Regions from separate parts of the Homo sapiens genome. Here regions 1, 3 and 4 are each linked to region 2. The links are contacts of gene promoters, found by promoter capture Hi-C in blood cells and fetal thymus (Javierre and others, 2016). All regions are on one chromosome and are shown on one strand. Each heading gives the region's core, a stretch centred on a gene start or on the middle of the fragment in contact. The rest is flanking DNA. Distances are from core to core; before and after follow the strand shown. Region 1 holds the start of DERPC (DERPC proline and glycine rich nuclear protein). Region 2 holds the start of CDH1 (cadherin 1). Region 3 has its middle 6.9 kb from the start of HAS3. Region 4 overlaps SMPD3 (sphingomyelin phosphodiesterase 3).

Region 1 (6,142 bases), core at 3,643-6,142, 390 kb before region 2:
TGTAGGAGGCGCTTGATAAATGGTGGGAATGCAGATGTGAGTATCACTGACATGGTTCCTATCCTCATAAAATTGGAAGTTCAGCATGGAAGAAAGACATTAAACAAACACACAAATTATATAGTTATAACTGTTACAAATGACAAACAGAAAAATCATAATATGGCCATGACTGTTAAAAAAAAAAAAAAAGAAGAAGAACAAGACCAAGAAAAAGATAATCAGTCTGGTATGAGGGCTCACACCTGTAATCCCAGCACTTTGGGAGGCTGAGGTGGGCAGATCACTTGAGGTCAGGAGTTCGAGACCAGGCTGGCCAACATGGTGAAACCTCGTCTCTATGAAAATAAAAAAATTAGCGAGGCATGGTGGCACACCTGTAATCCCAGCGACTTGGAAGGCTGAGGCAGGAGAGGGAGGCAGAGGTTGCAGTGAGCCAAGATCACGCCACTGCACTCCAGCCTGGGTGACAGAGCAAGACTCCGTCTCCAAAAAAAAAAAAAAAAAGAAAAAGAAAAAAAAAGAAAATCACAGGATGCAATAAGCACACGCCAGCGCATGTTCTTCATACCACAGAATGTAACCCATTTGTGGTGGTCCTGTAGTTTTTACCTTTTGATTAGTTCTTCAGGGGTGAGCTCAGTAAATCATCCCTTTCCACATTTCCTAAACCCACCTCTCAGGGAAGGCAATTCTCTGAATTGCCTTCCCTGAAGGCAATTCAATGAAGGTTCTATGCCTGTGTTTCGGTTTATCATATTTATTTTACAGGTTGGAAACTGTACACTTATCTTTCTCCCACTGGTCTTTGAGCTCCGTAAAGTTAGGGCCTCTGACATTTGTCTTAGTGCCCAGTATTTGCCACTCATTCACCGAGAAACATTTACAGAATGCCTAAATTCCAGGTACCAGGCTGCTGGGCACTGAATTCACTCATTTGCCCATCTACTCATTTATATCACAGCACCCAGTACATAACAGTCATTCAACATGAACTAAGATGTTGCACCCGAAGAAAATCACTAGTCAGTGCCCTTGGAGGGGAGAAGAAAAAGGACTAATAGACCTCTGCATACACCCAAAGGACATTTTACCTAATTTTAAATCTCCTTTACTCCCAAATGTAGACATGTAGGTCTACATTCTCTCAGACAGATGAACTTTGGAATCCATCTTCCCACATCACCAAAAAGTTTCTGATATTAAAACGTGTTATCATTTTTTCTGAATTGACAATGAAACAGTACTGATACTCCCTGCAGGAAATTTTGCTTACCAAAGCTGCAATGGTGTTGAGACTGATATACCAACAATTTCCCTTCCTGTGTCCAAAAGATCCAGCAAACCTCAGTTTCCAATGACAGGCAGTGAGATGTCACATTTCTAGGTAGGACCCTTCTAATCAACATTACACAGATTGAAACTGAGCTTCTCTTATCAGTTAGGAGATCTCAGAAGTTTGGTAGTTCTAAGCAACTTCAGAGGGGCTAGGAAGTCACTCAATCAGTTTGATTATAAAAGACATACAAGCTTCTTGAACTTCAGAAGAAATTAACATCAAAACACCATATCAGACTCCCAAATGACTTACTTTCTCCTGAAAGTAGTTTGCTGACAAGTTATAAATTTCCACAGTGCCATCTGTTCGTGAAACAGCCAATCTGTTTGACTGGTTATTGTAAGCCACACAGCGGATTCCTGATGGAACATAATTAAAGAAACGTACTCGATGGACCTTAAATTCACCCATTCCTAGGGGGCGAAAAGAGAGTCATTATTGCTATATGTTAACTGCAGTATGTCACATATAGTATTCAGTTCCTTAATATCACTGTTCTGGCTGGAAGGCTCCAACAACATCTCCCTGAAGTTCATTTCCAAATGGCTGCTAACAATGCCCCCCACAAGAATTACTCAATCTTCAAAAGCTCAGAATGGCTTGAATAATAAGGAGGCTTCAGCAAAAAATCAAAAAGGGTCCTACTCCATAGCTCCAGAGTTCCTATCTCGGGGCGCCTAGGAATCCGCATTTTAGCAAGCATCTCTCCTCAACTCTATTGCTAAGTTTGCAAACAACAGACCTAAACTGAGGTAGTGACAGTGAGGCTGATGGGGCAGGCAGAACCGAGCTCCTCTTGAGGAAGAAACGACAGGGTTTGACTTAATCTGGCTGCCTGGTCTGACGTCTGTCACTTACCCTACCCCGTCCCCCCGACGCCCGCCAACATATATACTGGCCGAGAGTAGAGACCAGGTCTTGTTCGCCCCTCACTGGCCTAGCTTCAAGGTTAGGAACCCGCAGACAGAGCAAGCGCGTTCGGTCGGGCCGGGGCGTCTGAGGCGCGCGCGGTCTTCGCCTCCCCTTCCCTCTCCCCGAGTCTACAGAGTAGCCCCCACCCCGCCTCGGGACAAGGAGACCCTCGGGACAAGGAGCTCAGCCGGACGCCGACCCTGGGCCGGCCACCTTGTAAGACCCCCCCAGCTCTCGCAGCCGCTTCCCACGCCCCTTCCCCAACTCACCAGCGGCCCCACGCTCCCCTTCCCGGTGCTCGCCTCTCTCCGCCCCGGCCCCACGTGCGCGCGCGCTCTCAGGCTCTGCCCCGGAAGTGCTCCTGGCGCATAGTCGGAAGTGCGCAGGCAGTGCTCGCGGCGGCGGCGACGGCGGCGGGAGGTTCGGTTGTCGCCCGTTGGCCGCGCGGCGCCGCGCTCGGCGGCCGCCATTGCAGGTCAGGCCGCGGGCGGGGGGCACGGGAGGCTGCGGGGAGCGAGGGCCGAGCCGGGATTGGGGGCGAGGGCGCGAGGGAGCGGGAAGCTAGGGAGCCGGGGCCGGGCGGGGCGCGCGGCTCGGAGAGAAGAATGGCGAGCCGAGGGGCGGGGAGCGCGGGCGGGGGAGGGGTGGCCGGGAAGGGGGAGGGCGGCGGGAGGGCGGCGCGGAGGTGGGGGCAAGCCCGGAGGGGCCTCCGGGGTGGGAGGGCCAGGAGTGTGGGGGAAGGGAGCGGTGTGGAGACGGAAGGCGGAGGGAAGGAAGGGAGCGAGCGGGGCGGAGCGGGAGAAGGGCGGAAAGGGTGGCCGAGCGCGGGCGGAGGACGGAGAAGGGGGCGGCGAGGGCCGGAATCTCGAGGTACGTGCGGGAAGGGGCTCTTCCCGGGGTTGGGAGGGAGCCCAGCCCGCTATGCTTGCGGGAGCGGAGTAGAACTGGAACCTAGGAAGTAGCGGGAAGAGCAGAAAGGGGAGTTCGGGGTGGGGGTTAGGACCGTGAGGTTTTGTTCCAGGTAACATTTGTAATCGTGGAGGGGGGAGGCTTCTGGGAGAGGTAATTGGAAGGGTGGTTGGAGAGTCATTCCAGGTTCTTTTGTGGGAGGGAAGCCGAGAGACGAGTGGGGTGGGGTCCTGGAGGAGTGGAGTACTTGAGAACCGGGAACAATTTGGAGAACGAGGGTGGTAGAGAAAGGACGTTTAAAGAGTAATCTTTGGGAAGAGGGTGAACGGTTTGGAAGACCACTCCAGTGGGTGGTGTGGAGGAAGGCGGTTTAAAGAATAGTTTCCCTGGGAGGCAGGAAAAGGGGTTAAAACAGCTTGTAATTTGGAGGGGGGTGGAGAAGAGGGGGGAAGCGGATTGAGAAGTCCCAGAAAGTGGGTGGGACTAGAAATAGGAAGTGTTTGTAGCTCTAGCAGAAAGGGTGGGAGGGGGCCGAGAGGGAGTGGGTGGAGAAGATGGGGGTGGGTGGGAGGAAGAGCACAGAGGGAGACTCTACGCCGGGCTAGAAAGGAAAGGGTTTGGGGGAGTACAGGGGGCCGTACCATTAAGAGGAGGACAGGCTAAGATGGGGCTGCAGAGTAGCAGAAGATGGAGAAAACTGCAGTAACTCAGATCGACTGAAGCCATCTTTTCCACCCATTGCTACAAATACCAGTAATTGATTCCCTCCAACGTGGGAATCCTAAAATGTGATGGGAAGTATCACGTGTATGCATAGCATCCACACACGTTTTTGAACACACTTCACTAATGTAAAGTTTGGAAGCATTCAATTCCACCAACCCTCCATAAGCCCCTTTTTGGAGGGGAGCAAGATTCTCATTTGGAAACAGGATTTTAGACTTAGTAACATAAGCCTTTCAAGAGACAAGATCCCCTTCAAAAGTATAGACCTGTCCCCTTCAGTTACAAAACCACGATAACACTACAAATAAAAATAATCTGTATTCGGTTGTATGTAAAACGTTCTGAGTTGTTCACTTGGTAGAAAGGCACATAGAGACATAGTCATCATATTTAGAGAAATTACCTTCCAGAACTTAATCCCTGAAGCAGTTTGGTGAACCACAACTGCCATGTTTGAATTCTACTGTTATGAAAACTTGATTTTATTCTGATGACCTGCTGCTTTCGTAGAATGCTTTAGTCCGTTATAAACATTAATATGCTAACACAGTGTAGTATTAAGACATTCTATTTGATGAATACTAAGAAAATGCCACCTTTCTCTGGGAAATCGATAGCTTGACCCTGAAGGCTTACCATGTGTCAGACAATGTGCTAAAAGCTTTACATTCATTACTCGTTCTTGCAACAGCCTTTCAAAATAGGTGTTTATGCCCAGTGTATTGTTAGGAAAACACGTGAGGTTAAACTACCCACTGTCACATATGGGATAGGTGGCAAAATCACAGAATCCAGGTCTGTATGACAAGTGAGTGCTTCACTATATTCGTAAACAAAGTATCCACCCTGGGATCAAAAAACAAAAGCTCAATAAATGCCAACTGTTGGCCTAGCAAAAAATAGAAAATTGTGAATATTTACACTCTGAAATAATTGATTTCACCCCAGTTTAGAAAAGAATGTTTAAGGGTTGAGAATTTAAAGGCTTGGTTTCCTGTTTGAAAAAAAAACAAAATTTCTAAAACGTTGTTTAGCTTTATTAAAATTTAGTTATTTGTATTGAGGTTAAACCGTTGAGTCAAAGCCTCTTTTTTGCTATAAGCCATATGTTCGGTTTAATTGGATACATATCACACTTTCTTCTGCCACATTTTATTTTGAAGGATTATGAGGATCATTGCTCAGGCTGTTCTGTTCTCTGTAAGACAGTAATCTTTTAACAATTTAATATTTAACAATTCAGAGACCAGAGGGTAAGAATTAAATTCTGTGGAAGATTAAAATGAATACTTGACAAAGAATGTCCTCTATTCTCTTGACTTTCACATTCAGGAGCAGAGGGTAAAGCTTTGCGTCCTAGAGGTGGCATTGAGTAGATTTTTCTAAAAGTTTCAAAAACTGAAACATCTCAATTGGGTATGATAAAAAGCAAGCTGCTTCTTTGTTTTTAGCTGCCTACCCCACAGATATAATACTTTGGTGGCAAGTTACAAGGTCTTTCCATAGGTTACTTTGCCATTTTGTAAGAGATGCTGTGAGAACGAGGCTAATATTTGTAAAGCAAGGGAAGTTATCATACAGAGGTGCTTTACAGGAGGGGGCTGTGTGAGGAGAACTGCAAGAGGGGCCAGATTGTGGAGGGGTTAGGGTTCATATCCCAGCTCTCCACTTAAGTAGCTGTGTGACCAGTTAACATTTAGCTCCTCTAAGCCTGTTTCCTCATTTGTGAAATGGGAGTGAGAAGACCTTGCTAAAAGCATAGGGTGTCAGGGTGAAATAAGAGGATACAGATAAGTGAACGAGGCTAGCTTGTGAGAAATGAAGCCTTTTGTATTATAAAAATAATGTTCTGCCTGGACTTTACTTTTCTTCCTTTTTTTTTTTTTTTTTTTTTGTGACGGAGTCTCGCTCTGTTGCCTAGGCTGGAGTGCAGTGGCGTGATGTCGGCTCACTGCAACCTCTGCCTCCTGGGTTCACGCCATTCTCCTGCCTCAGCCTCCTGAGTAGCTAGGACTACAGGCACCTGCCACCACGCCCGGCTAATTTTTTGTATTTTTACTGGAGAGGGGGTTTCACTGTGTTATCCAGGATGATCTCGATCTCCTGACCTCGTGATCTGCCCGCCTCGGCCTCCCAAAGTGCTGGGATTACAGGTGTGAGCCACCGCACCCGGCCTCTGCCTGGGCTTTTCTTAAGAAATCATGGTGGTGCTTTGATTTGCCAGTTTTTTTTTTGTTTTGTTTCAGTTTGTCTGTT
Region 2 (5,905 bases), core at 3,036-5,535:
CACAGCATGGGGCAGAGGAATGACCCTAGCAAACACTCCAAAGTCCCCTGAGTTAAGACCCTACAGCTGCCTGTGCACAAAAAGTGACAGGTTTCAAGTTTCAAAATTCCCATGGAGTAAATTCTCCATGAAGCCAATGTCTAAACCTGGTGCCAATGTTACATCCATCCCTTCACTTCCGTGCACTGTCCAAAGAGAGTCAGGCCACATCCCAAGTCCTAGCGGCCTTTTAAAATCACAAGCCAGTTCCTCAGATTGAACGTGTGATTTTACCAGAAGGGCACTTCCATCCTGGGGCGACTCCACATTGGACTGATACAAGGAGACCCCACAGTCCAAAAAAGCCAAAACAAATATTAAATGTCAGGAAATCTGTTGTGTGGGGGTGGGGGTCTGTGAACATAAAGGGAACTGAAACCAACCACACCAGAGGCCTGCGGATTCTGTGTGAAGGCTGCCTCTTCCCACTAAATCACCAGTCCCAGGGTCCCCCGCCACCTCCCCCGGGTCTGACCCATCTCCATCATCACCACCCCCTCTCGGAGGTCCCACCCTGTCAACACCTCCATTCTCAGCTTACTTCACATTGGACACTAATTCCCCAAACACCTTTTTTCTTTGTTTTTGTTTTTTCAGGTTATTGAGGTGAAAAACAAGGAGAAAAAGGAAGAGAAAAGACCAACTGCGGATGCTTCAGATTACAGAATTGCTTTATGCCTCAGTTTCCTCACTTGCAAAGTAGGAAGAATAACAGTGCCCACCCTCCTAACGTTCTAGTGAAGACTAAATGAGGTAAAATATGTGAAGCACTTGCCCCAGAGTCTGAGGCAAAAGTGAATACGTGTCACTATTAATTATTAACATATTAGTGTTAATATGTAATAATATTATTGGTCAAACACAGGAGCTTAGAAGGGAGAAATAAAAACCAGACCAACCCACCCTTGGTGCTACCAAATATCTTGGTGCAGGAAAACAAAGTCACCAGCCTTAGCACTGGGACACCCCAGACGCATGCTCAGATACAAGCTTGTTTCTAGCCCCTGCCTTGCTCTCCAAGACTGGATCAAGTTTGCCTTCCCCGAGAAGCCACTCCTCAATGCCCACTGACATCAAAATATCCAATCCCCAGCACTCTGGGAGGCCAAGGCGGGTGAATCACTTGAGCCCAGGAGTTAGAGATAACTTCTGATCCAATAGAAAGCTCTAGAGCACACAGAGCAAATATACTTCATCAGTCGAGCTGTAGTTTCTCTGTAAAAAACTTCGAATGACTTCCAAAGTTCAAAAAAAAAATGTAAAGACAACAGCGTGATTGCTAAAGATTCATGTGGTCAAAGACTGGAAGAATGACACAGTGGAGGTGTTCCCTCAGGGGAATTGTGGGTGATTTCTCTTAAAAAAAAAATGCCTCTTATTGTGATACCCAATCAAGTAAAATCATGAGAGAGGAGAAAGTGGTTTGATATAAAGGAAGCACTTGGGATTCAGTGAAACCAGAAGAGAAACTAGCCCCTTCCCTTGCTCCCTGGACAACAGTCAAGTGGAACAAAGCAAACTCTAGATTGTCACAACGATAAGGCCTAGAAGTACATTGGGTGTATGCATTTTCATCCTGAGTCAGAACTACCATGCTTTTTTTAAAAAAAGATCATTATTCCTGGCCAGGCGTGCTGGCTCATGCCTGTAATCCCAGCACTTTGGGAGATTGAGGCAGGTGGGTCACCTGAGGTCAGGAGATCCAGACCAGCCTGGCCAACATGGTGAAACCCCTTCTCTGCTAAAACTACAAAAAATTAGCTGGGCATGGTGGTGGCACCTGTAATCCCAGCTACTCAGGAGGCTGAGGCAGGAGAATCACTTGAACCTGGGAGCCAGAGGTGGCAGTGAGCCGAGATCACGCCATTACACTCCAGCCTGGGCAACAAGAGTAAAACTCCATCTCAAAAAAAAAAAAAAAAAAAAAAATCATTATTCCTTGGGGGAAACAGTACCTGTATCAAGATGTTTTGGTCCAGGCACAGTCTCTCAGGCCTGCAATCCCAGCACTTTGAGAGGCTGAGACAGAAGGATCCTTTGAGCCCAAGAGTTCAACACCAGCATGGGCAACATGGAGAGACTCCTGTCTCTAAAAAAAAATTTATTTTTTATTTATTTTTTGAGACGGAGTCTTGCTCTGTCACCCAGGTTGGAGTGCGGTGGCACTATCTCAGCTCACTGCAACCTCTGCCTCCTGGGTTTAAGCAATTCTCCTGCCTCAGCCTCCTGAGTAGCTAGGATTACAGGCACACGCCACCATGCCCGGCTAATTTTTATATTTTTATTTAGTAGAGATGGGGTTTCACCATGTTGGCCAGGCTGGTCTCGAACTCCTGACCTTGTGATCCGCCCACCTCGGCCTCCCAAAGTGCTGGGATTACAGGCGTTAGCCACTGCGCCCAGCCTAAAAAAAAGTTAAAATTATCCAGGTGTGGTGGCACATGCCCATGATAACCAGCTACTAGGGAGGCTGAGATGGGAAGGATCACTTGAGCCCAGAGGATGGAGGCTGCAGTAAGCTATGATTGTGCCACTGCACTCCAGCTTGGGCAACAGAGCAAGACCCTGTCTTTAAAAAAAAAAAAAAAAAAAAAAAAAAAAGCTTTTATATCTGTAAACAAAAGCCACAGCCCAGTAACCAAGAGAGGGCTGCTCTTCAGTCATCCCAGAGATGGTGCTTAATGGGGCCTGGGAGTCAGATCCCAGTTCAGATATCTGCTCTGCTGACCCTGAGCAAGTGGACGTCACTCTCTTAGCCTCGGTTTGCTCAACTGTAAAACGGGAATACTCCTGCCAGGCCTTCCCACCCACCAGGTTTTTGCAGTCTGAAATGAGAGACTGTCTCTACAGTGCTGAGGGCAATAAGAGAAATACGAAGGCTTCTAGTAAGTGCCCTCAACCTCCTCTTCTTTATAACATAGTCAACAACCAGGCAGGGTTACCCCCTCCACCACAGTGTTCAGTCGTAAACGTTTGGATCCCCAAATCTGCGTAAATTCCAAGGGGTGTCGTTTGAGCCAAGGAGGGAGCTTGCCCATTGCAACCCAGGGGTGTGGGAGTGCAATTTCTCGGCCCCTTTCCAACCCCTCCCTACTCCGCCCAGGGACACCGGCAGCGCGCCCTCACCTCTGCCCAGGACGCGGCCTCTCTCCAGGTGGCGCCGGGGCACCGTGAACGTGTAGCTCTCGGCGTCAAAGCCAGGGTGGCAGGGCTCCGGCTCCTGGCAGAGCCAAGAGGAGACCTGGGGTGGGGGAAAGGTAGATGGAACCGGGTGACTCGGAGGGTTCCCTCCTGCTCACCGAAACCAACAGCGCCGCCCCTCCCTCGCTCCCGGCGTCGGGATTGGGGGAGGACCCCAGCCCGCAGCCCCGGGACGGGCGGGCAGCGACGTCACCCTCCCCCACCCCGAAACCTACGGCCGCCGAGCCCCCAGGAACTCCCGGGAGGGGGCCGCCGAGTCACCCCCTCAAGACCTAGCCCACCGTTCCCTTTCAGTCTCCTTTCTCATTTTATTGGAGATGTCTTTATTCTCCAGTACCCCACTTTCCTTAGACCGGGAATGCACCACTCCTCAGAGCGAGGGGCGCTCCCACCTCCTCCGACCTCACTTTCTTATCCCCGGGACCCTCACTCCTATTTACGACCTTTCTTGGCATGGCAGGTGCCTTTATTTCTACGGATGCCCCTCTCCTTCCCTCGAAGATCGTCCCCACGACTCCTGGCTCCCCCTCGACTTGCACCAGGGCACCCCTTCTCCACACCCCACCCCCTACACCCCGCTTCACGCCCCCACCGCCCGCGCGAGCCCACCCCGCGGACTCCGCGGCCAGACGCCCCCGCCTCGGTCTGCGCTGGAGGGGGCAGGAAAGCCGCGCTCGCCCCTCACCACCCACCCCCCACTCCCATCACTGGGGGGTCCGGAGCGCGCGAGGCTTCCAGGCCGCTCCGCTCCTCAGGACCCGAACTTTCTTGGAAGAAGGGAAGCGGTGACGACGGGAGAGGAAGGGGCGCAGGGCTGGGGCGCGGAGCTTGCGGCCCGAATGCGTCCCTCGCAAGTCAGGGGATCCGGGGTACCTGCAGCAGCAGCAGCAGCGCCGAGAGGCTGCGGCTCCAAGGGCCCATGGCTGGCCGGGGACGCCGAGCGAGGGCAGGCGCCGGGTGCGGTCGGGTCGGGCCGGGCTGGAGCGGGCTGGAGTCTGAACTGACTTCCGCAAGCTCACAGGTGCTTTGCAGTTCCGACGCCACTGAGAGGGGGTGCGTGGCTGCAGCCAGGTGAGCCCCGGAGGCACCGCCCCCCGTACCGCTGATTGGCTGAGGGTTCACCTGCCGGCCACAGCCAATCAGCAGCGCGGACCCCTCCCCAGGGCGGAGCTGACGGCCCGCCCACCCGGCCTCGCATAGACGCGGTGACCCTCTAGCCTGGAGTTGCTAGGGTCTAGGTGGGTTATGGGACCTGCACGGTTCTGATTCCACTGGGTTCGAATCCCAGCCCCGCCGGTGGCTCACTAAGACCTGGGATCAGAAAGGGCTTTTACACTTGGCTGAGTTCTTTTGTTTTTTGGGATTTTTTGTTTGTTCGTTTTGGAGATGGGGTCTCACTCTTTCACCCAAGCTGGAGTGCAGTGGTGCGATCACAGCTCACTGCAGCCTCGAACTCCTGGGCTCAAGCGGTCCTCTGGCCCCAGCCTCTCTAGTAGCTGGGAGTACAGGTGCACACCACCACGCCAGGCTAATTTTTTTTTCTTTTGCCTTTTTGTAGAGAGACAAGTCGGGGCGGACAGGGGCAGTGGGGGCGCTGTGTCTCCCTGTATTGCCCAGCCTGGTCTCGAACTCCTGGGCTGAAGCGATCCTCCTGCCTTGGCCTCCCAAAGTGCTAGGATTTCAGGTGTGAGCCATGAGCCACTGAGCTAGCAGCCTAATTTTTTGTTTGTTTGTTTTGTTTGTATTTTTTGAGACGGAGTCTCGCTCTGTCTTGCCCAGGCTGGAGTGCAGTGGCACGATCTCGGCTCACTGCAACCTCCGCCTGCCGGGTTCAAGAGACTCTCCTGTCTCAGCCTATTGAGTAGCTGGGACTACAGGCGTGTGCCACCACACCGGCTAATTTTGTATTTTTAGTACAGACGGGGTTTCACCATGTTGGCCAGGCTGGTCTGGAACTCCTGACCTCAGGTGATCCACCCTCTTCAGCCTCCTGAAGTGTTGGATTACAGGCGTGAGCCACTGCACTCTGCCTCGAGCGGCCTAATTTTTTAAAAAATTTTTCTAGAGAGGGGATCTCACTATGTTGCCGAGGCTGATCTCAAATTTCTGAACTCAGGCGATCCTCCTGCCTCAGCCCCTTTACTGAGTTCTCATTTTTTAATCTAGTCTTTTTTAACTGTAGAGCTTCATGGGTTAGTGAGTCAGCAAATTGATTCCCTAGGTCAGGACCACCTCCCAAAGCCTCAGTTTCTCCACCCTCCTAATGGGAATAATGATCAGAAATGTCTCCCTATGCTGTTGTGGGACTCCCATACAATTAAAATGACAAATGTTTCTTGAGCCATAAATGCTCTGTACAGAAGTGAGGGGTAAAAATAGTAACAATAGGGCCAGGCATGGTGGCTCACGCCTGTAATCCCAGCACTTTGGGAGGCCGAGGCGGGCAGATCACGAGGTCAGGAGATTGAGACCATCCTGGCTAACGCAGTGAAACCCCGTCTCTACTAAAAATACAAAAAATTAGCCAGGCGTGGTGGTGGGCGCCTGTAGTCCCAGCTACTCGGGAGGCTGAGGCAGGAGAATGGCATGAACCTGGGAGGTGGAGCTTGCAGTGAGCCGAGATCGCGCCACTGTACTCCAGCCTGGGCGACAGAGCAAGACTCTG
Region 3 (6,421 bases), core at 1,515-4,014, 360 kb before region 2:
TACTTGGGAGGCTGAAGCAGGAGAATCGTTTGAACCCGGGAGGCGGAGGTTGCAGTGAGCCGAGATCGTGCCACTGCACTCGAGCCTGGGCGACAGGGCGAGACCCCGTCTCATAAAAAAAAAAAAGAGTACAAGTATAAACTGTACAAGGCAGTTTATAATTAAATATTGATGAGAGAATCCAACATGAGGAGTTTGAGGATTTCAGGAAAGGTCTCTGTGAGCTGGAACAGGCTGGGCAGTTTCATGGGGAACCTGAGCTGCTATGTAGAAAGGGAAGAACATTTTAGGTAGGAAGGATAGCTTAAGTACAAGACCAGGTGTAGGAATGGGGGACATGTGTTTAGAGGACAGCCAAGAGAGGCCAGGGTGGAAGAAGAAATCTACACTAAAGTTCCACCAGCCTGACCAACATGGTGAAACCCGTCTCTACTAGAAACACAAAAATTAGCCAAGCGTGGTGGCACATGCCTGTAATCCCAGCTACTCAAGAGGCTAAGGCACGAGAATCCCTTGAACCCGGGAGGCGGAGGTTGCAGTGAGCCGAGATCATACCACTGCACTCCAGCCTGGGTGACAGAGTAAGACTTTGCCTCAAAATAAAAAATAAAAATAAAGGAGCTTCCAGCAGGGCCTGTTCCAGCCGGGCCTGCTGTGTAGGAAGTGCCTGTTACCCTCTAGCTGCTGTGAGGAGGAGGATGCTAGGACCGGAGTGGAGGACTTGGAGTGACCAAATAAGGAGTTTGAATTGTATCCAGTAGGTTATGGGGAATTACCGAACATGTCTGAGCAAGATAGGAGTAGATTGCAAGTACTGTTTGGGGAAGGTTGGGCTGGCAGCATTTTGGGGTAAGGACTAGGAATGGGGTATGGGAGATCTGTTAGGAGGCAGATGCAACAATAAAAGGCTGAGGAGAAGCCACGATGAGAAGTGTGGGTGCTGCCTTCTGGAGGTGGAGGTGAGCACAGGCAGTGACAAGGAATAATCCTAAATGAGTGCCTTGCACGCCAGGAATAATCCTCCAACACTGGAGGCATAACCAAGAGAAAAGTACTCGACGGTGCAGAGAGTTCAAGGGGCCTTTCTCAAAGCTTTAGCAGGTTGGAGGTAACTGAAGCTGACAGTTCCACAAAGATTTCACCTTTCAATGAAATTCCAAATCCAAACTCACGAAATGCTCAAATATCCTGCACCCGTAACCTCTCTGTCATCACCAGTGCCGGAAGCTGCAGAGCAACCTTGCCAGGACCCAGGTGCTCCATCGTCCCACGGTTCTGCTCCGCTGTCTCCTAGTGAGTGGCTTGAGCAGGGGAGGCGGGAGGAGGGGCATCCAAGCTCTATAGGCTGCCCCCTCACCCTCTGCCCTTAACGCTTCACTGCTCCTCCCTGGCATCCAGCCCATCACTTCCAGCAAAGCAAAACAGAATGGAGGATGGCAGCCAAGCTACCCAGGCTGCCTCCAACCCTCCAAGTTTCATCCCCATCCACTTTCCCTGGGCTGACCACCATGAAAACCTCTTGAAGCTAAGGAGGGCGAACTGAAAATGGCTCCCGAATAGTAGCAGGTTATGTTCCCGCAGCTGCCCAAACAGGGCTTTCTCTTCAAGGCGGCTTCAGCTGCAATGCTAGTTAATACATAATTCAAAGTGGAAAGTGTGTGCCTTGACTACAGCAAGGCAGCTACCACCAAACAAAGTTATTCTTTCATAACTTTCCCCTCTTACTGACAAGCACTGTGTAATCAGGACCATTTCCAGGTGCTATGTTTGAAGAAGCAGGCTTAAGGACTTTCCTGTGCTGCCGTTAGAATGGTTCGATTTTAACTCCAGTCTCCCTCTCCTTTGATGGAAGAATCGTTTCATTTCAAATTAAGGGGCCTCTGCTCTGCTGGAGGCAAAGCGGTCAGCCCCTGCTAAGGGGCCAGGTTCTTTTATGCTGGCTTGAAGGTCAGGATTAGGAGGGGCACACTAGACCGATAACCGAATATCAAATCAGACCTGGAGATGCTTTTCTCAGAATCCTAAACAGAAAAAGCTCTTCCCAGCCATCTTTCTTTTCTCTCCCTCCCCTAGGTGAGTGTAGAAAAAAAAAAAAACCCAGAAGGCAATTTTCAACACTTATCTTTTTAGTGGAATATTGTGCAGCTACTAAAAAAACACGTTCATGAGGACAATGGAGGAATACTCCAGACACCTACGATGCAGTGTTAAGTAACGAACAGGAGACACAATCGTTATGTATGCATACCTGCATTTATGTTGTTGTTTTCTTTAAAATCGTATGAATTAGGCTGGGCGCGGTGGCTCACGCCTGTAATGCCAGCACTTTGGGAGGCTGAGGTGGGTGGATCATGAGGTCAGGAGATCGAGATCATCCGGGTCAACATGGTGAAACCCCACCTCTACTAAAAATACAAAAATTAGCTGGGCATGGTGGTGTGCACCTGTAGTCCCAGCTACTCGGGAGGCTGAGGCAGTAGAATCGCTTGAACCCGGGAGGCAGAGGTTGCAGTGAGCCGAGATTGCGCCACTGCACTCCAACCTGGCGACAGAGCAAGACACCATCTAAAAAAAAAATGAATTAAAGGCAGGTGAGAAGTTCACCCAAATATCAAGGTCAGGTTTGATCATTAAGATCAGGTTTGGCCGGGCGCGGTGGCTCACGCCTGTAATCCCAGCACTTTGGGAGGCCGAGGCGGGTAGATCACAAGGTCAGGAGATCGAGACCATCCTGGCTAACACGGTGAAACCCCGTCTCTACTAAAAATACAAAAAATTAGCTGGGCTAATTTTTTATTAGCCTGTATTCCCAGCTACTCAGGAGGCTGAGGCAGGAGAATGGCGTGAAGCCGGGAGGCGGAGCTTGCAGTGAGCCGAGATCGCGCCACTGCACTCCAGCCTGGGCGACAGGGCGAGACTCTGTCTTAAAAAGAAAAAAAAAAGATCAGGTTCAGGCTGGGCGCAGTGGCTCACACCTGTAATCCCACTTTGGGAGGCAGAGGCAGGCAGATCACCTGAGGTCGTAAGTTCGAGACCAGCCTGACCAACATGGAGAAACCCTGTCTCTACTAAAAATAAAAAATTAGCTGGGCATGGTGGTGCATGCCTGTAATCCCAGCTACTTGGGAGGCTGAGGCAGGAGAATCGCTTGAACCTGGGAGGCGGAGGTTGTGGTGAGCCGAGATTGTGCCACTGCACTCCAGTCTGGGCAACAAGAGTGAAACTAAAAAAAAAAAAAAAAAAAAAAAAAAATCAGGTTTGATAATATATTAATAGGTTTGATATTAAAATCAAGTGGTAGAACAATGGATTTTTTTTCTCTGAAATTTCTATTAATAAGTAAAACAATTTTGTAATAAAAAGGTATTTTAAGGCCAGGCACAGTGCCATGTGCATGTCGTCCCAGCTACTCAGGAGGCTGAAGTGGGAGGATTGCCTGAGTCCAGGAGTTTGAGACCAGCCTGGACAACACAGAGAGACCCCATGTTGTAAAAAAAAAAATGAAGATAAATTCTGAGTTCACAGGATTTCCTTTTTTTTTTTTGACACGGAGTCTTGCTCTGTCACCCAGGCTGGAGTGCAGTGGCGCCATTTCGGCTCACTGCAAACTCTGCCTCCCGGGTTCACGCCATTCTCCTGCCTCAGCCTCCTGAGTAGCTTGGACTACAGGTGCCTGCCACCATGCCCAGCTAATTTTTTGTATTTTTAGTAGAGACGGGGTTTCACTGTGGTCTCGATCTCCTGACCTCGTGATCCTCCCGCCTCGGCCTCCCAAAGTGCTGGGATTACAGGCATGAGCCACCGCGCCTGGCAGGATTTCCTTATAAGCCCGGGCAGGGTGGGGTGCAGTCTCTATCATACATGGATTCATGTGAAAAAGGTTTCACAACCTCAGTTTACAGTGAAAGCAGTAAATAAAGTGGGAGGGCCAGGATTTAGGATTAGTGGTAGCCAAAACCAGAGTGATTTCCTTTATGTAAATTCCTCCCACTGTTCCTTTGAGAGAATGTAGCAGGGAAAGGCGGAGTCTGCAGAGCTATGCCAGCTCTTTGGGCACCTTTGAGGGAATTATAAAAAGGCACATGGCTTGGCTGGCACACCCCAGCTGGGGCAGTCCACACTCACCTCCTCATTGAGGACCACAGTGGTCCTGGGCAAGAGGGGGAGGCACATGCTAAATACGGCTCTAGGATTCCCCTAGAAGGAGGCTTTTCCCTGAAGAAAGGATTTCCAAGCCTGGTGATGTCAGCAGCAATGTCCTCCCACCCAGGGAAGTCCCAGGGAGAGGTTCTCTCCTGTGCGCATTGTAAGCCTACTCCCACGCAAGTGTCTGCACCACACACATGTAGTTACGTGACACAAAATGGACACACAAGTGCACACTCCTTCCCAGAGTGGTGGAACACAATCCCTGTCTACACTTAAGGTAAGCTTGTTCCGAATTTGTTTGGCTCTTTTTTTTTTTTTGGAGAAAGAGTCTCGCTCTGTCACCCAGGCTGGAGTGCGATGGCCTGATCTTGGCTCGCTGCAACCTCTCCCTCCTGGGTTCAAGCAATTCTCTGCCTCAGCCTGCCACCATCCCTGGCTAACTTTTGTATTTTTAGTAGAGACGGGGTTTCACCATCTTGGCCAGGATGGTCTTGAACTCCTGACCTTGTGATCCACCTGCCTCGGCCTCCCAAAGTGCTAGGATTACAGGCATGAGCCACCACACCCGGCTTGTTTGGCTCTTGTTACAATAAAATCAACCATAATTCTTTTTTTTTTCTCAGTCTTGCTCTGTTGCCCAGGCTGGAGTGCAGTGGTGCAATCACGGCTCACTGCAGCCTCAACTTCTCGGGCTCAAGGGATCCTCCCACCTTAGCCTCCTAAATAGCTGGGACCACGTGCCACCATGCCCGGCTACTTTTTGTATTTTTTTGTAGAGATGGGGTTTCACCATGTTTCCCAGGCTGGTCTCGAACTCCTGGGATCAAGCGATCTTCCCACCTCAGATTAGGCTGGGCGCAGTGGCTCACACCTGTAATCCCAGCACTTTGGGAGGCTGAGGTGGGCGGATCACGAGGTCAGGAGATTGAGCCCATCCTGGCTAACATGATAAAACCCCATCTCTACTAAAAATACAAAAAATCAGCTGGGCGTGGTGGTGCTTGCCTGTAGTCTCAGTTACTCGGGAGGCTGAGGCAGGATAATCACTTGAACCCGGGAGGCGGAGGTTGGAGTGAGCCGAGATGGCGCCACTGCACTCTAACCTGGGTGACAGAGCGACACTCCGTCTCCAAAAAAAAAAAAAAAAAAAAATTGGTGTTGGGATTACAGGTGTGAGCCACCAAGCCTGGCCCCACAATTCTTTTTTTTTTTTTTTTTTTTTTTTTTTTTTGAGACAGAGTCTCCCTCTGTCATCCAGACTGGAATGCATGGTGTGATCTTTGCTCACGGCAACCTCCGCCTCCCGGATTCAAGCAATTCTCCTGCCTCAGCCTCCCAAGTAGCTGGGACTAGAGGCGTGTGCCACCACACCTGGCTAATTGTCAAAAAATATTTTTAGTAGAGACAGGGTTTCACCACATTGGCCAGACTGGTCTCAAACTCCTGACCTCAAGTGATCCACCTGCCTCACCTCCAAAGTGCTGGGATTACAGGCGTGAGCCACCGTGCCCAGCCATGTCCCCACAATTCTTTTTTTTTTTTTTTTTTTTGAGACGGAGTCTGACTCCGTCGCCCAGGCTGGAGTGCAGTGGCATGATCTCTGCTCACTGCAGTCTCGGCCTCTTAGGTTCAAGCGATTCTCCTGCCTCAGCCTCCTGAGTAGCTGGGATTACAGGCACGCACCAGTGTGCCCGGCTAATTTTTTGTATTTTTAGTAGAGATGAGATTTCACCATGTTGGTCAGGCTGGTCTCAAACTCCTGACCTCAAGTGATCCACCTGCCTCAGCCTCCAAAGTGCTGGGATTACAGGCGTAAGCCACCGCGCCCAGCCATGGCCCCACAATTCTTAATTGTGCTGGCACTTCTGCTTTGTCTTCTTTCTTGATGAAAGACATCATTAGTCACTGTCACACAGGAGGTCCAAAGTTAGACCCTTTATAAAAGCAGTTAGAGCGAAGCTGAGGGTAGGGGCCATTCCCATCGGTGCCTTTGTTGGAGGGGACCCCCTGCCAAAATATGTCCTACTTGCAGCAGTTAATTTTTTTTTTTTGGCTAGGACCCCCACTCCCTGATTTTCTTTTCTCATCAGATAAGCCAATGTAGTGATTCCCATGTCTGGCAGGGTGTTGCACAGTAGACTTTGAAAACCTGTAGAGCTTTTAAAAATCATGAATGCCTGGAACCCATCCCAGATCAATTTAATCAGAATCACTGGGGGTGGACCCCAGGCTTGATTAAAAAAAAAAAAAATTCCCCAGGCAATTCTATTCT
Region 4 (5,677 bases), core at 550-3,049, 310 kb after region 2:
TCTTCTGGTTTATAATAGAGTCATGAAGACAGTAACTTTGCAAGAGAATAGAGTCATCAAGACAGTAACTTTGCTGATGCCTGGCGTGGCGCTGAACCATTCTGTGTGGATTCTCCCATTTCATCCCCTCAGCTGTTGTATGATGCAGCTACTATGATTACCTCCATTTTACAGATGTGAGAATTGGGGTTCATAAGTAAAATTACTTTTCCCAGGTCACTGTGGAGTCAGGCCCAACATGACTTGAGGGTCTGACTGTTCGACCATGATCCACAGGCCCTTGCACACAGGACCAAAGCTCTGCAGGCAGTGCCCAGGAGTCACAAGGGTCTCTGCTGATGCTTATTCCCCCTACGGCCCCTGCAGCCCCATTGTGGAGGGGCAAGTGAAGAAGGCAGAAGGCAGACTTAATGCTGGGGCTGGGAGTTCAGGATTCAAAGCTTCAAGATGGTATCTTTAGGATAATTACATCCTGCCATGTATACACAGGAGTAAGGACATGGCAGTACTCCTGGCCAAAGAGAGGATTCAGGAGAAACTGTTGTTCCCACAGCCAGTGACCAGGGCAGGCTTAGCCAGGGGGCCTAGGACCCTCTGGCACCCTAGGACCACCTAGGCCCCCTGGCTAAGACTGCCCTGGCCATTGGCTAACTCCTTGGGCTTTGTGCAGGGAGGGCCTGACTGGGCAGGTGACGTCCCCAGGCCGAGCCCTTGGTCACCTTGGGCCATGTCCACCCTCACTGTGGACTGTTCACCGCCACTGAGGCCTCCAGACCTTCCATCTCCCCAGCACTGCTCTGCTGGGTGACATCACCGCCTCCTCAGCCACTGCTGGGGTCCAGAACCACCCACATCAGCCTCCATAACTTGTTTCACTTGTGCCAGTCTGTTCTTTCATGCTCAGAGTGCCCCACGGGGTCTGGAATAGTGCCAAGCTTAGGAAGTACCTGCTGGTGGGTAAAAAATGAGGTGGTCCTAAGCTCCTTGGCTAAGCCTGAAGCAGAGATCTGGGGTTCAGGAACAAGACCAGTAGGAAGAAAAAGACTCAACCCAGTTTGCTGGTGTCTTAGTTCATTTTCTATTGCTGTAACAGGACACCTGAGACTGGGTAATTTAGAAAGACAAGAAATGTATTTCTTACAGTTCTGGAGGCTGGGAAGTCCAAGATCAAGGGGGTCGCATCTGATGAGGGTCTTCTTTCTGTGTCATAATATGGTAGAAGATGGAGAGAGATAGAGAGTATGCCAGCTCAGATCTCTCTTCCTCTTATAAAGCCGCCAGCCCCATCATGGATCCCCACCCTAACTACCTTAACTAATCCTAATTACCACCCATAGGCCTCACCTCCAAATGCCATCAATATATGAATTTGGAGATTAGGTTTCTAACACAAGAAATTTGGGGGACACATTCAAACCATAGCAGCTAGTAAGTAACTCTCTGAGGAATCCCAGGAAGCATCTTCAGCTACTCAGAGCAAGGTCACAAGAAGGGAATGATCTTTGAGATCCCTTTTGTGCCATAAAGGAGGTGACAAGGAGGCCAGAAAACCTTGGTCAAAATCCTGACTCTGATGCTAACTTGAACCAATTACTTCACCTCTTTGAGCCTTAGTTTCCTCAGCTGTAAAATAAGGTAATACCAGTGCCTGTCTCTTAGGTTGTTGTGAAGATCACTGAGCTAATAACTTTGAAAATGACTGTGAAGCCCCCGCTGAGAACTGTGGAAAGGTTTACCATTACAACTAAAATCCTCTAAATCAGGCTGGGGCTGTATATGTGTTCAATGGTTAAGGAAACTGGTGCTTTTCAAGGAGACTCCAATATTCTAGCTGAAAAGGACCTCAGAGATCCTCACATTAACCTCCTCACTTTAACGAAGGAACCAGTGCAGCCCAGCCCAGAATCTCCCAGCAGCCTACACGCCACCTCTTTCTCTGCAGCAGGTACACCCAGGGGAGGCAGAAACTCGCCCACTATTCCCTGGAGGTTAAAATAAGGAGACTGCATGGGAAGCAATTTGCAGTCATCTCAGATCTGTGGCTAAGGAGAAAATTCCCTCCCCTTTTCTCCAAACCCTCAGCATCATCAAACTAAACAACCCCTCAGTGGGAGGTGGAATTCTTCACCACCAGTTCTCACCTGACTGGAGGCCTCCAAGCAGCTGGGCCTGTACTGTTTTTTATTTCAACAACAGCAAAACCTTCTTTTCCTCCCTCTGAGCACTTTACTATACTCTGTTTCCTGCACATTCTTCCAGCTTCTTGCTCAGGGGCCTTATACGTCTATCTTGTCCAAGCACCTGCCCAGATCACAGCAAAATGAGAACCAGGCCCAACATCCATGGCTTTCCCAGTTCTGGGCAAGGGAAGAGGTTAATTCAGATTCCATGAGGGCCTCTGCAGAATCACAATATTTCCTCACCTAGGATAAATTCCACCTCCTTCTGAGGATTTCTGCTGTAGTTTGGTGATGCTGAGGAATATGTTATCTTACAGTTTTGGAGGTCAGAAACCCAAAATCAATTTCACTGAGCTAAAATCAAAGCATCAGCAGGCTGGTGTTCCTTCGGGAAGCTCTAGGGGAGAATCTGTTTCCTTCTAACTTCTAGAGCCTGCCTATATTCCTTGGCTCCTTGCTCCTTCCTCCATTTTCAAAGCTTCAGCCTCTGCTTCCTTGTCATCCTCTTCTTCCACCTTCAGCGGTCTTGCTTCCCTCTCAAAAGGATCCTTGTCGTTACGTTGGGCCTATCTGGATAATCCAGGCTTCTCTCCCCATCTCAAGATGCTTGACTTAATCACATCTGCAAAGTTCCTTTTGCCACATAGAGTAGCATATTCACCAGTTCTGGAGATTAGGATATGGACATCTTTCAGGGGCTACTACCAAGTCTAATAGGCAGGCCACTGGACCCCTAAGCCTTGGTTTCATCAAGCAAGTAGGGAAGAAAAACAATGCCCACCCCTAGACTCTTTAATGGGTCGAACTCAATGGTGCCCTGGAATGTCAATGGCTAGGAATGGAGGCCGAGCTATGAGTATCAGGCCTCATTCCCTAGCCAAGTCAAAGAGATGTGTCTGGGAGGTGGTAGAGTGAGGGAGTGGGGCTTGGACTTAATTGTTTTACTGGACATGGCTTCTTCAGGTGTACTGGGGGAGTGGTTTGCACAAACACTGCCAGGTTGGTCATAAGTCTGTCCCCCTGGCTCATTGCCATGCTGGCTTTGGCTCCATTGCCTCTGGTCTCTTCATCCCCCACCCCACATACCTATCTTCCTGTGCTGTCATTCCAAAGCACACATATAACCACGTCTCTCCCTTTTGTGGCTCCCCCTCATCCTTGGGTGGAGGTTCAAGCTCTTTACCTTGAGTTACACAGTCTCTGCCATTCCCCACAAGCGCCAGACAGAGCCACAGAAAGCAGGTGGCAGATGTGCGAGGGCAGAGCTGGGAATGGGGGTGAAGCAGATGAGGGAGGATGGGGATACTGTGCAGATGGTGTTGCAGGGACGGGCCTGACTCCAGGGGCCCCTGTGTACAGAGGCAGTTGGTGCCGACATGCTGGTGGTCTCTGGCTGTGAACCCAGGTGGGCCAGTGAATGAGCATCAGGTAGAACCCAGCCCATCAGAGCTGTTGGCCTGGTCCTGACTCAAATGGGAGTGGCTTCTGGGTGCTGGTTATTGTTCTGAAGTCTGGAAGGACAAGAGGGGAAGTCTTTTCTCCACAAATGATTTTGGCCAAACCCCAGGGATGGAGAATGCCCACTAGGACCTGGATGAGCTGAAGGCCATAGCTTGCTGAGGGAGCGATTTGGTCTCTCTCTGCATTAGCTGAAGACATGTTGAAGTGGGTTCAGGGCCCCCACCTACCTGAGTCACCATCATGAAGCTTAATTAATGCTTACAAAGTGCTCTGAGGCCTTGACTGAGAGGCCTCATGTGAACACAGAATATCCTTATTAATCACTGTGACAGCACCAAGTGAGGTGGCCTATGGGGCAGCTGCCTCCACACACAGAACAATGGATGCAGCCCAGCAGTTAAATTGCGATTTTGAAGAGTAGTCCTGATCAGCTGGTTCAAAAGCAGCTTAGCTGGAGGAGGCAGGCCTGCCTAGGAGCCACTTAACTCACCTGGCCCTTATCTCCCATGCATTAAGTTGAGGCAATAAAACGCCCCTCCCTGCTGGGCAGGGATAATGGGAGGACTGTCAGGTAATGGTGAAGCATCCCTTTTAAGCCTGGGTAACCAGGCTATTAGCCTAGCCAGAGGGAGCCAACTGGAAGATCATATAGGCTCCGTACCAGGCTGAGTGTCTTTGGACAAGTCCCTCAACTTCTCTGAACCTCAATTTCCTCATCTGCAAAGTGGGACAATAACAATTGTACCTTTTTCCTTATAGGATTGCGAAGTTCAAATGAAATGGATATGAAAGGTGCCTATAGTAATGATATTAGTAATAAGAATAATGGCCGGGCATGGTGGCTCACACGTATAATCCCAGCACTTTGGGAGGCTGAGGCAGATGGATCACCTGAGGTCAGGAGTTCGGTACCAGCCTGGCCAACATGGCAAAACCTGTGCATGCCTGTGGTCTCAGCTACTTGGGAGACAGGTGGGAGGATTGCTTGAGCCTAGGAGGTTGAGGCTGCAGTGAGCCAAGATCACACCACTGCACTCCAGGCCATGTGACAAGAAAGACACTATCTCTTAAAAAAAAAAAAAAAAAAGCAATAGCTATTCGGGATACTACATGTTCCAATAATCAGCTACTCTGATCCCCACTTTACAGATGAGGGAGCCCAAGAACAAAGTGACCTCCAAGTTCCCACAATTAGTGATAGGTGGAGCTGGAACTCAGGCAGTCTGGCTTCAAAGTCTGTTCTCTCCCCCACTCTCTGATGCTGCCTTTATCATTAGTGTCATTATACTCATTTTAGGAGTAAGGCTTCATTATGGTTGTCATCTTCATCATCATCATTACATGGGGTTCATGGAAGCTGGGCCCTGGGGCATCTGTGCTATGTTGGAGGTGAGGAGGGTTCTCTCTATCTTCCATAGGAAGGGAGGAAAGTTATTGTTGTCAAGATAGAGGTGAAGTACATGGTTTTTCTCTTACCAAAACTCTGGAGATGCAAGGAAATGTGTAACAGGATTTGAGGAAAGACAGTCAACAGATGTTGGATGCTGCATCCCCATCCTGCCCCATCCCTCTGGCTAGGCGTTGAGGGGGACATTGTCCCCACATGTGATATACAATGAGCTGCCTGTGGGTGATAGGGCAGTAGATTCCTGGCCACCCAGCCATCACCTGTTTCTCCCGCACTGGCTGATCCCCCAAAGGAAGGTTCCAGAGACCTGACACAAAATCCTCAGTCTTGTTAATGTGCTCAATGCATGTTCCAGAACTTCAGCCAGTCCCTGCAGTGGGACCCTGGCTCAAGCGCCATCAACCTTGACTTCTTCCTGTCTCATTGGTGGCCATAGCTGCTCTGGGCAGCTTCCTCCAAGACCCCCCGACCCTCCTAAACCAGCCTTAGAGGGTATGGTCCAGCATCCCTTACCCCTCCAGGACTAGACAGCCCAGCCAGATACTAGCTGTGGCCCCTAGCCACTACTTCTTCATCCCTCTCACCTCTCCTGAGGCCTATTTCTACAAATAGACCATACTGGGGCCTG

What was found. The method cuts DNA at HindIII sites, captures the fragments that hold promoters and counts their contacts. A CHiCAGO score of 5 or more calls a contact.
Region 1: a fragment that was not itself captured here is called in contact with the fragment with the promoter of CDH1 in region 2 in 1 of 17 cell types (erythroblasts); the score reaches 5.3 in erythroblasts.
Region 3: a contact is called between a fragment that was not itself captured here and the fragment with the promoter of CDH1 in region 2, in 1 of 17 cell types (megakaryocytes). The highest score is 5.1, in megakaryocytes.
Region 4: a contact is called between a fragment that was not itself captured here and the fragment with the promoter of CDH1 in region 2, in 1 of 17 cell types (endothelial precursors). The highest score is 5.2, in endothelial precursors.

What each region holds. Positions count from the first base shown.
Region 1 is chr16:69,129,068-69,135,209 of GRCh38, reverse strand. It overlaps DERPC (DERPC proline and glycine rich nuclear protein), which reads left to right and starts at 2,622. Exons shown (of 3, transcript NM_001002847.4): 1 at 2,622-2,726. CHTF8 (chromosome transmission fidelity factor 8) reads left to right here and starts at 2,622. Exons shown (of 4, transcript NM_001039690.5): 1 at 2,622-2,726. It overlaps UTP4 (UTP4 small subunit processome component), which reads right to left and starts at 2,561. Exons shown (of 17, transcript NM_032830.3): 1 at 2,521-2,561; 2 at 1,592-1,752. The coding sequence starts at 1,750. RefSeq lists silencers at 2,513-2,872, 2,893-3,042. The HindIII fragment of the contact is 686 bases long and covers 4,550-5,235 here.
Region 2 is chr16:68,735,672-68,741,576 of GRCh38, reverse strand. It overlaps CDH1 (cadherin 1), which reads right to left and starts at 4,285. Exons shown (of 16, transcript NM_004360.5): 1 at 4,114-4,285; 2 at 3,166-3,280. The coding sequence starts at 4,161. RefSeq lists a silencer at 4,170-4,239, a cis regulatory region at 5,192 and an enhancer at 5,120-5,264. The HindIII fragment of the contact is 3,737 bases long and covers 2,644-5,905 here.
Region 3 is chr16:69,095,494-69,101,914 of GRCh38, reverse strand. It overlaps a transcript of HAS3 not described here. Among named protein-coding and RNA genes, the nearest start is that of HAS3, 6.9 kb to the left of the region's middle. RefSeq lists enhancers at 1,352-1,853, 3,278-4,103. The HindIII fragment of the contact is 3,339 bases long and covers 1,095-4,433 here.
Region 4 is chr16:68,419,034-68,424,710 of GRCh38, reverse strand. The region is part of intron 1 of SMPD3 (sphingomyelin phosphodiesterase 3); the gene reads left to right. Among named protein-coding and RNA genes, the nearest start is that of SMPD3, 27 kb to the left of the region's middle. The HindIII fragment of the contact is 1,723 bases long and covers 938-2,660 here.